Regions from separate parts of the Homo sapiens genome. Here region 1 is linked to region 2. The links are contacts of gene promoters, found by promoter capture Hi-C in blood cells and fetal thymus (Javierre and others, 2016). All regions are on one chromosome and are shown on one strand. The core of a region is centred on a gene start or on the middle of the fragment in contact, and the rest is flanking DNA. Distances in the headings are between cores, read along the strand shown. Region 1 holds the start of CCDC71 (coiled-coil domain containing 71). Region 2 holds the start of AMT (aminomethyltransferase).

Region 1 (3,710 bases), core at 207-2,706, 260 kb after region 2:
AAGGTGGGGCTTCCTGACTGCACCCCATGAGATCCTGGCCCCTGGGACCCTACTCTTGCTTTCTCTCCACCAGGAAAAAAAGGCTAGAAGCACTGACCCCAGAGGAACAGGAGATTTTGCAGTTCCTGCTAGATACCTTGGCTATACTTAAAAGCAGCGAGGACCTCACCATTAGTGCTGAGGCCCTGGGAAGCTAAGAGGCACCAGATGAGGCCTATGGCACTGCTGGGTGGACTAGGCACTTGTCTTTAGGAGTGCCTGGACCCCTCTGTATAAGCAGGGAAAATACAGAGCAACCAGAGGATCCTGGTTGGAAAAAGGGCAGGAAAAAGGGCTAGTACCCAGTCCCTAAATGAAGCATCCCGCCACCCTCCTGTGATTGCCAATAGGCTTCCACCTGACCCCAACTACCAAATAAGGCACCACTGCAAGGGTCAGAGTCCAAGAGTTGTGGCAATATTTCTGCCTCCTGGCTCAGGCTCTGACCCTAGTGCAAATGCCCCCACTACCTCATCCATGAAACCAGGGCTCCCAGGATGGTTCCCAACCTGGACTTGCAAACCTCTGACTAATGGGACCTTTGGTCAGAGCTGTGGAGACCACTCTGACCTCTCACTGAAGTCACAGACCCCTAGGGTTGATTTTGACCTGTGTCCTATAACCACCACCCCGTACTAGCCCAAGAGCATGGATAAAAAGACTGAGGTCCCAGACTCCTAGGCAAAAGGAAAGGGGTTCTGGGCAGTGTTAAGACTGGAAGCAGGACTTCCTTCCATTGAGGGGCTGAGGCTGGGCCAGTGACTATACCTGCCCCCACCTGCCTGAGCAAGTATACTCAGGCCCACAGTGGTATACTGGAGCCCCCAGACTCCATGTGCGCTTGGGCTTGCGTGCACCACTTGTGATCACGTGCACACCAGCCTTTCATGCCATGTGCCACAGGCCCTATTCTCAGGAAGAGAGGAAGGCCTGCTGTCCTCGGAGAAGATACCCTTACTGCAAAACAAAGGAGATCACCTGAGACTCCCTGTCAGGAGGCACTCCTCTTTCACCCTCTGGTCAGGTGTCTGGGACTGAAGTGGGCATTGTCAGTGGCTAAAGATAGATCAGAGGGTGGAAGATGGCCTGAACCTTGTCAGGAGCCCCTCCCAGATGTCAATGCACCACTAGCTCCCCTCAGAAAAGGTGTCAGATGACCCCTAATCCAGTCTTGGCCGGGCTCTAGTGAGTCCTTGCCTGGGGCCGCGTCAGAGGGCACCTCTGTTCTTCAGACTTCTGCACAGGGCCGAACGGGTTTGGAGCAGTCACCGCGGCCACCACCTCCAGGCAGTCCTCCTTGGTACCCAATCTGCTCCGCCCCCAGACTTTGTGGGGAAATGGGGTCTCAGGGGTCAAGGGTCGGTAGGGCGGGCTGGGTCCCGGAAGCGGAAGCGCAGTGCACTTCCGGCGCGCAGCGGGCGGCCATGTTGGAGCAGCGGAGGCGGCGCAGAGGCGCGTCTTGGGTCCCCGCGGCGGCGCCGGTAGGTTGGAGCCGCGGGCCTAGCCGCGCCGCGGAGGGGCGGCCCGCGAGGCGGCAGGGCGGACGGGCAAGCGGCCAACTCTTCCCGGACCCGCGTCCTCCGCCGGCCTGGCCGAGACCCCCCACCCCACCCCCACCCCGCGCCCAGCGACCCCACCCTGGGGCTGTGCGGTCCCGGTAGGGCTAGCACCGTTCACCCTGTACATTTCGCTGCCTCAGTGACCCCCGCCTCACGGCTTGGGCCCTAAGGACGTGCATTCCCAGCCTGAGGGCCCCGATCTGCCCCCTCCCCCGGTCTGCCTGTGTGGCGCCTCTCTCACGCCCTATCTTCCGTCAACTTCTCCTGCCTTCCCCGGGGGCACGTGTGAAGGGAAGTCGGAGGCCGGGCAGGAGCCTCTGTTTCCGAAGCTTCTCGAAAGCCCAGAAAACCCCTCCCAAGAGCCCAGCCTAACCTGGGTGGAAGAGCCCCCAGGTCACCCCAAATATTTGCGCTGGGGCGCGTGTGAGGGTGGGAAATAGGTCCCTCTCTCTTCTACAGTTCACAGCTCTGGGAACTACATCCCTTCAAAAAACATTAATAAAGAACTAAAGTCATGTGCAAGGATTGTGCTTGGAGAACGGTCTCTGGGGAGGGGAAGTGCCCAAGACACCTGAGGATCCAAGAATGTTTCCAAACAAAGAGCCCTAGGGCATTTCCTCCAGGGTATTCTGAAGACTTCATCTGCTGCATTAGAGCGGTGGGAAGAAACTACACAGACGGGCCTCATGGCCCGAGGGACCTGCCTGATCCTGGCTGATCTTTTAATGCTCTGGTGCAGCTGGGGAGCTGCCTCTTGCTTCTGGGAACCCTCAGTGTTGGGTTGGGTATTAGATGTTAGTTATGATTGATGTCCACAGCTTCTTTAAAGAAGTCTGGGAGTAGTTAGGTGTTCTCAGTCACCTCCATCTGGGCTGTACTGAGGTCTGTGGCCCTCCAAGTCTTAGGTAGGACAGTGCATACCGCTAATGTCCCCTTGACTCACCATCCTACTTGCAGCCTTTGGCTCCCATTGTCCTTAAACTTTGGGATCTTGGTCTGGCTTCCTGGTCCCTGGTCTGCCTGGTTGCCTAGAGAGATGTCATTGGCACCTGCTACTCATCAGCTTTTTAGTTTCTGTTGAAGAAAAGTCCGACTCTTGATTAGGTCTCCATGCCTCTGGAGCTAGAAAATGGGTTGCTGAGTACCCTGTCTAGAGACTGAAAACAGAACTTCTGGTGGGCAGGGAGATTCCCCCACCCCACTCCAGCTCCACACATGAACAGCAGCAGCTGGAGAAACAGATGGGCATGGACAGTGGGTGTAAGTCTGGGCCCTTTGGCTAACATTCAGGGTTCTTTGTTGCTCTATCCTCGCCTGTTTTTTCACCTAGATCCCAGATCCCACACCAAGTATGCCTTAACCCTTTCTCACTTTGGAGCCATTGCATTAGCTATTCCCCTTTTTGTTCCATTTCCATCTAATCATTTTTCATTCATCACTCATATCCTAGCTAGGTGTTGTCTCTCCCAGGAATCCTTTCCTGACCCATTGGCAAACTGAGCTGAATGCCAGCATTCACTCCCAAGAATCTTAACAGTGTCTTTTTCTGGCCTTCTAACCTAGGTTCCTTGAGGACAGGGATATTGCCTGTATTCCCAGAGCTGAGTAATTCTAGGTTTCTGGCTTCAGAAAATACAGAGTTGAATTAAAATGTACCAGGCTCAAATCTTTTCAGGGACCCGGCAGCAGGTTGGATGGCTCTGAGGTATTTCTGAGCATGTATCTTGAAGAAACTCCCTGATCCTTAGCCTCTCCTCCCACCCCAGCATGGTAGAGGGTCAGGAGACCAGGGTTTTACACCAGGAAGTGTCTCACTCTGGCCAGATTCCTCAGTGTCATGGAGATTGGGGCACTGATTGACTTGTCTATGTGTTCTGGCCCCTTGTCTTAGTGCCATTCTTATTGACTCTTTTCCTCTTGTCTTGGAGGTGCCAAGCGCTGGTTTGCGGATACCCAGGCAGATCTGCAGTGCCTAATGCCATGAGTGTGGTGGTTCAGCATGTGGAGGAAAAAGCTGTGCACTCCTGGTCGCGCATCTCCACGGCAGGGAAGAAGGCCCTGGAAGAGGCACTGCTTGTCTTTAACCCAATGAGCCAGGATCTCAGTGCCACA
Region 2 (3,552 bases), core at 757-3,256:
TGACCTACTAAAACCTGCTCCATGTATGGACCTGGAAGGCCATTGCTGCCATGGCACTTGGGACACTTGAGGAAGAAACAGAAACCTTATTTCTTCCTGTGTGTCCCCTAGTGGTTTTCTTTCCATTTGTGTTATGCCACAGAGAGAAATTTCCTGTCTGAACTCTTCTGCTGCCTGCCTAGGAAGGAAACCTGAAGATTTGGGCAGCCTGAGTCTCTTGGTTTCTGAGCTGGCTCCTGAATATATGTTCAAGTGGGTGTGCCCATAGGGCCTGGGCACGTGTCTCTAGCAAAACCAGGGCCTGAGCATAAGAACTGGGACCCTTCTAGGCAGGGTGCAGTGGCTCACGCCTGTAATCCCAGCACTTTGGGAGGCCCAGGCAGGCGGATCACCTGAGGTCAGGAGTTCAAGACCAGCCTGACCAACCTGGAGAAACCCCGTCTCTACTAAAAATACAAAAAATTAGCTGGGCGTGGTGGTAGGCACCTGTAATCCCAGCTACTTGGGAGGCTGAGGCAGGAGAATCTCTTGAACCCGGGAAGTGGAGGTTGCGGACCTGAGATCATGCCATTGCACTCCAGCCTGGGCAAGAAGAGCGAAACTCCATCTTAAACAAACAAACAAAAAAAAAAGAACTGGGACCCTTCTGCCATCTGACATAGCCCAAAGCACATCTCTATCCTTTCTCCCAGTTGCCCCTCTCCTTTTTTGTTGTTTTTTTTGAGGTTGAGTTTTGCTCTTGTTGCCCAGGCTGGAGTGCAATAGTGCAATCTTGGCTAACTGCAACCTCCGCCTCCCAGGTTCAAGCAATTCTCCTGCCTCAGTCTCCCGAGTAGCTGGGATTACAGTCATGCATCACCATGCCTGGCTAATTTTGTATTTGTAGTAGAGATGGGGTTTCTCCATGTTGGTCAGGCTGGTCTCAAACACCTGACCTCAGGTGATCTGCCTGCCTTGGCCTTCCAAAGTGCTGGGATTACAGGCATGAGCCACCGCGCCCGCCCTGCCCCTTTCCAAGAGATATGCTCAGCATAATGAGAGATCAACCGTGGTGGGGAGTGGGTCCAAGTAAGGGTTCTCATTGTTGCCTTTTAAGAGGCCTAAGTCCTGCATTAACTCAGTCCAACCATTAAGTGATGCAGGCTGCTCTTCCCTCATGTGAGAAAAACCTGTTTCCCTCTGGTTCTTCCTGGCTTTGCACCTGGTGGCTATTACAAAGCAGTACTGCAGTATGTCTTGGACCTGGAAAGTTGGACATGTGTGTGGCTCAACAGTTTTCTCGGGGGAGTTCAGTGACCTTTTGGTGGCCACCCTCTGTTCTCACCTGTGAGTTCTTGCAGGTGGCGACTTCATCTGCAAGGTCACTTACATAGCCCCACTCAGCTGCTTCGGAAAGCGTGACGAAGCAGTAGTCCTCAGTGTGTGTGTAAGTGAAGAGGACCTTGTGGTAGCAGGGACCATGCTTCATTCGTGGCTGTGTCCCCATCTGAGGGCCTGGTATGCAGTAAGATCAATAAATACTTGTGGAATGCATGACTGCTGGCTGCCTGTGTCTGCCTGGTGGGAGAGCTGTGGAACTAGGGGTCCACATGAGGACAGACTACTGTGGTGCTGCCTACCTGCCAGGCTGGCCCACCTTCCCCACCCCCACTTGACCTTACTCTCTTGAGGTCCTAAAGGTATGATTCAGACCTTTCAGCCCTTTCCAGAACTTTGACCCTCTGGAGACAGGGCGGTTCTGCAGGGGGCGGTCTAGCCCCTAGCTTTGTTCTGGGCAGCCCAATCAGCTCTGGATTGCCCGAGCTGCCCTGAAGAGTCAGCCGAAAGAGCTGGAGGCTTCTTCCCTGTGGTTGCGGGTTCCTGCATTCTCTGCTCTAAATCCCAGCCTGCCCTTGGGGCTGCCCACGCCCCCTTCAGATCCTTTGCTCCGGAGAGAGACCTGTCCGAGCAGAGGCCTGGACTACATCTCCCGGCGTGCCTGGCAGTGTGGTGGCCTCTGTGCGCCGTCTGCACTCGTTGCAGGCGACGATGCAGAGGGCTGTAAGTGTGGTGGCCCGTCTGGGCTTTCGCCTGCAGGCATTCCCCCCGGCCTTGTGTCGTCCACTTAGTTGCGCACAGGTGGGATAGAGGGTGCTGATCTTGGAGGGTGGGGGAGGGAAGCGGCTGGGGGCTAGGGCCCTGGTGGCACTAAGCCCAGCCGCCCACAGGAGGTGCTCCGCAGGACACCGCTCTATGACTTCCACCTGGCCCACGGCGGGAAAATGGTGGCGTTTGCGGGTTGGAGTCTGCCAGTGCAGTACCGGGACAGTCACACTGACTCGCACCTGCACACACGCCAGCACTGCTCGCTCTTTGACGTGTCTCATATGCTGCAGGTGAGCCAGGGGAGCACACTGGCCATCTGATCAGGCCTTCCTCCCTGTTTACAGTGGTCCACTCCTTGGCTTTGTTTGCTGTGAACTGGATTCCAAGGACAGCCTTCTCAGAAGAGCTAGAGGTCATGGGGGTGTCATGGATAGGTCAATGGCCCCAAGGAAATGAGCTCAGAGGGTCTCATCATCTCATCCTTCTAGCTTGCCCCCATTAAATGGTGTGCCTTAATGTCCCGGGTTTTCCAGGGCTGACACCCACTCTCATGTATTGGGCTGGATGTTGGTTTGAAAAGGGGTTATTTCAGGAAGGTGCTAGGTCCTGTCCAGTTCCCTGGCAGTCCCCCCACACAGAGTGACTGGGGGAGGTCAGGAAATCAGAAGGTGGTCCTTTGCCACGTGTAGAACCAAAAGACTGGTTAGTCACTTTGGGTGGGCTGGACTGCACTGTGGATGGCAGGGAGGATGCATCCTTGCTTAGTAGCCTTTTGGATTGTAGCTGTTGCAATGGCCTGAGGCTTTCAATCTCTTCCCCAGACCAAGATACTTGGTAGTGACCGGGTGAAGCTGATGGAGAGTCTAGTGGTTGGAGACATTGCAGAGCTAAGACCAAACCAGGTGGGCCCTTTTATTTCTGCTCTATGAGTTTTCTTAGTCATGAGCCAGCAAATGGGCTGAGTCCCTACCTCAGGCTTAGGGGCACAGAGATGAGTCAAACACAGCTTCTCAGGGCTTGCAGTCTTGGACAGAATCCCTGAGTCATTTCCAGAGACACAGACATTTGTAGGGAGGGGAATATCCCAGTCTTACTACATCAGGCTAGGAGGCCAGAAACCAAGGTTAATATGCTGCTCTCTGGCCATCCCTTCTGCTTAACCCCTCTCTATTCAACATGTGGTCCCTGGCCAGGCGACGTGACTCAAACACCTGTAATCCTGGCACTTGGGGAGGCCAAGGCGGGTGGATCACCTGAGGTCAGGAGTTCGAGACCAGCCTGGCCAACATGGCAAAACCTCGTTTCTACTAAAAACACAAAAATTAGCCGGGCGTGGTGGCGCGTGCTTGTAGTCCCAGCTACTCGGGAGGCTGAGGTTGCAGCAAGCTGAGGTTGCACCACTGCACTCTGGCCTGGGCAACAGAGTGAGACTCAGTCTAAAAAGAAAAATAACAACAACAAAGTGTG

The links. The method cuts DNA at HindIII sites, captures the fragments that hold promoters and counts their contacts. A CHiCAGO score of 5 or more calls a contact.
Region 1: the fragment with the promoter of CCDC71 here is called in contact with the fragment with the promoter of AMT in region 2 in 1 of 17 cell types (endothelial precursors); the score reaches 7.1 in endothelial precursors.

What each region holds. Positions count from the first base shown.
Region 1 is chr3:49,164,077-49,167,786 of GRCh38, reverse strand. CCDC71 (coiled-coil domain containing 71) reads left to right here and starts at 1,456. Exons shown (of 2, transcript NM_022903.4): 1 at 1,456-1,520; 2 at 3,527-3,710. The coding sequence starts at 3,579. RefSeq lists enhancers at 1,175-1,294, 1,315-1,384 and silencers at 1,535-1,614, 1,635-1,694. The HindIII fragment of the contact is 8,654 bases long and covers 1-1,929 here.
Region 2 is chr3:49,420,927-49,424,478 of GRCh38, reverse strand. It overlaps AMT (aminomethyltransferase), which reads left to right and starts at 2,006. Exons shown (of 9, transcript NM_000481.4): 1 at 2,006-2,118; 2 at 2,208-2,375; 3 at 2,907-2,987. The coding sequence starts at 2,029. It overlaps NICN1 (nicolin 1, tubulin polyglutamylase complex subunit), which reads left to right. Exons shown (of 6, transcript NM_032316.3): 6 at 1-2,146. RefSeq lists enhancers at 1,625-2,378, 2,379-3,131. The HindIII fragment of the contact is 5,136 bases long and covers 1-3,552 here.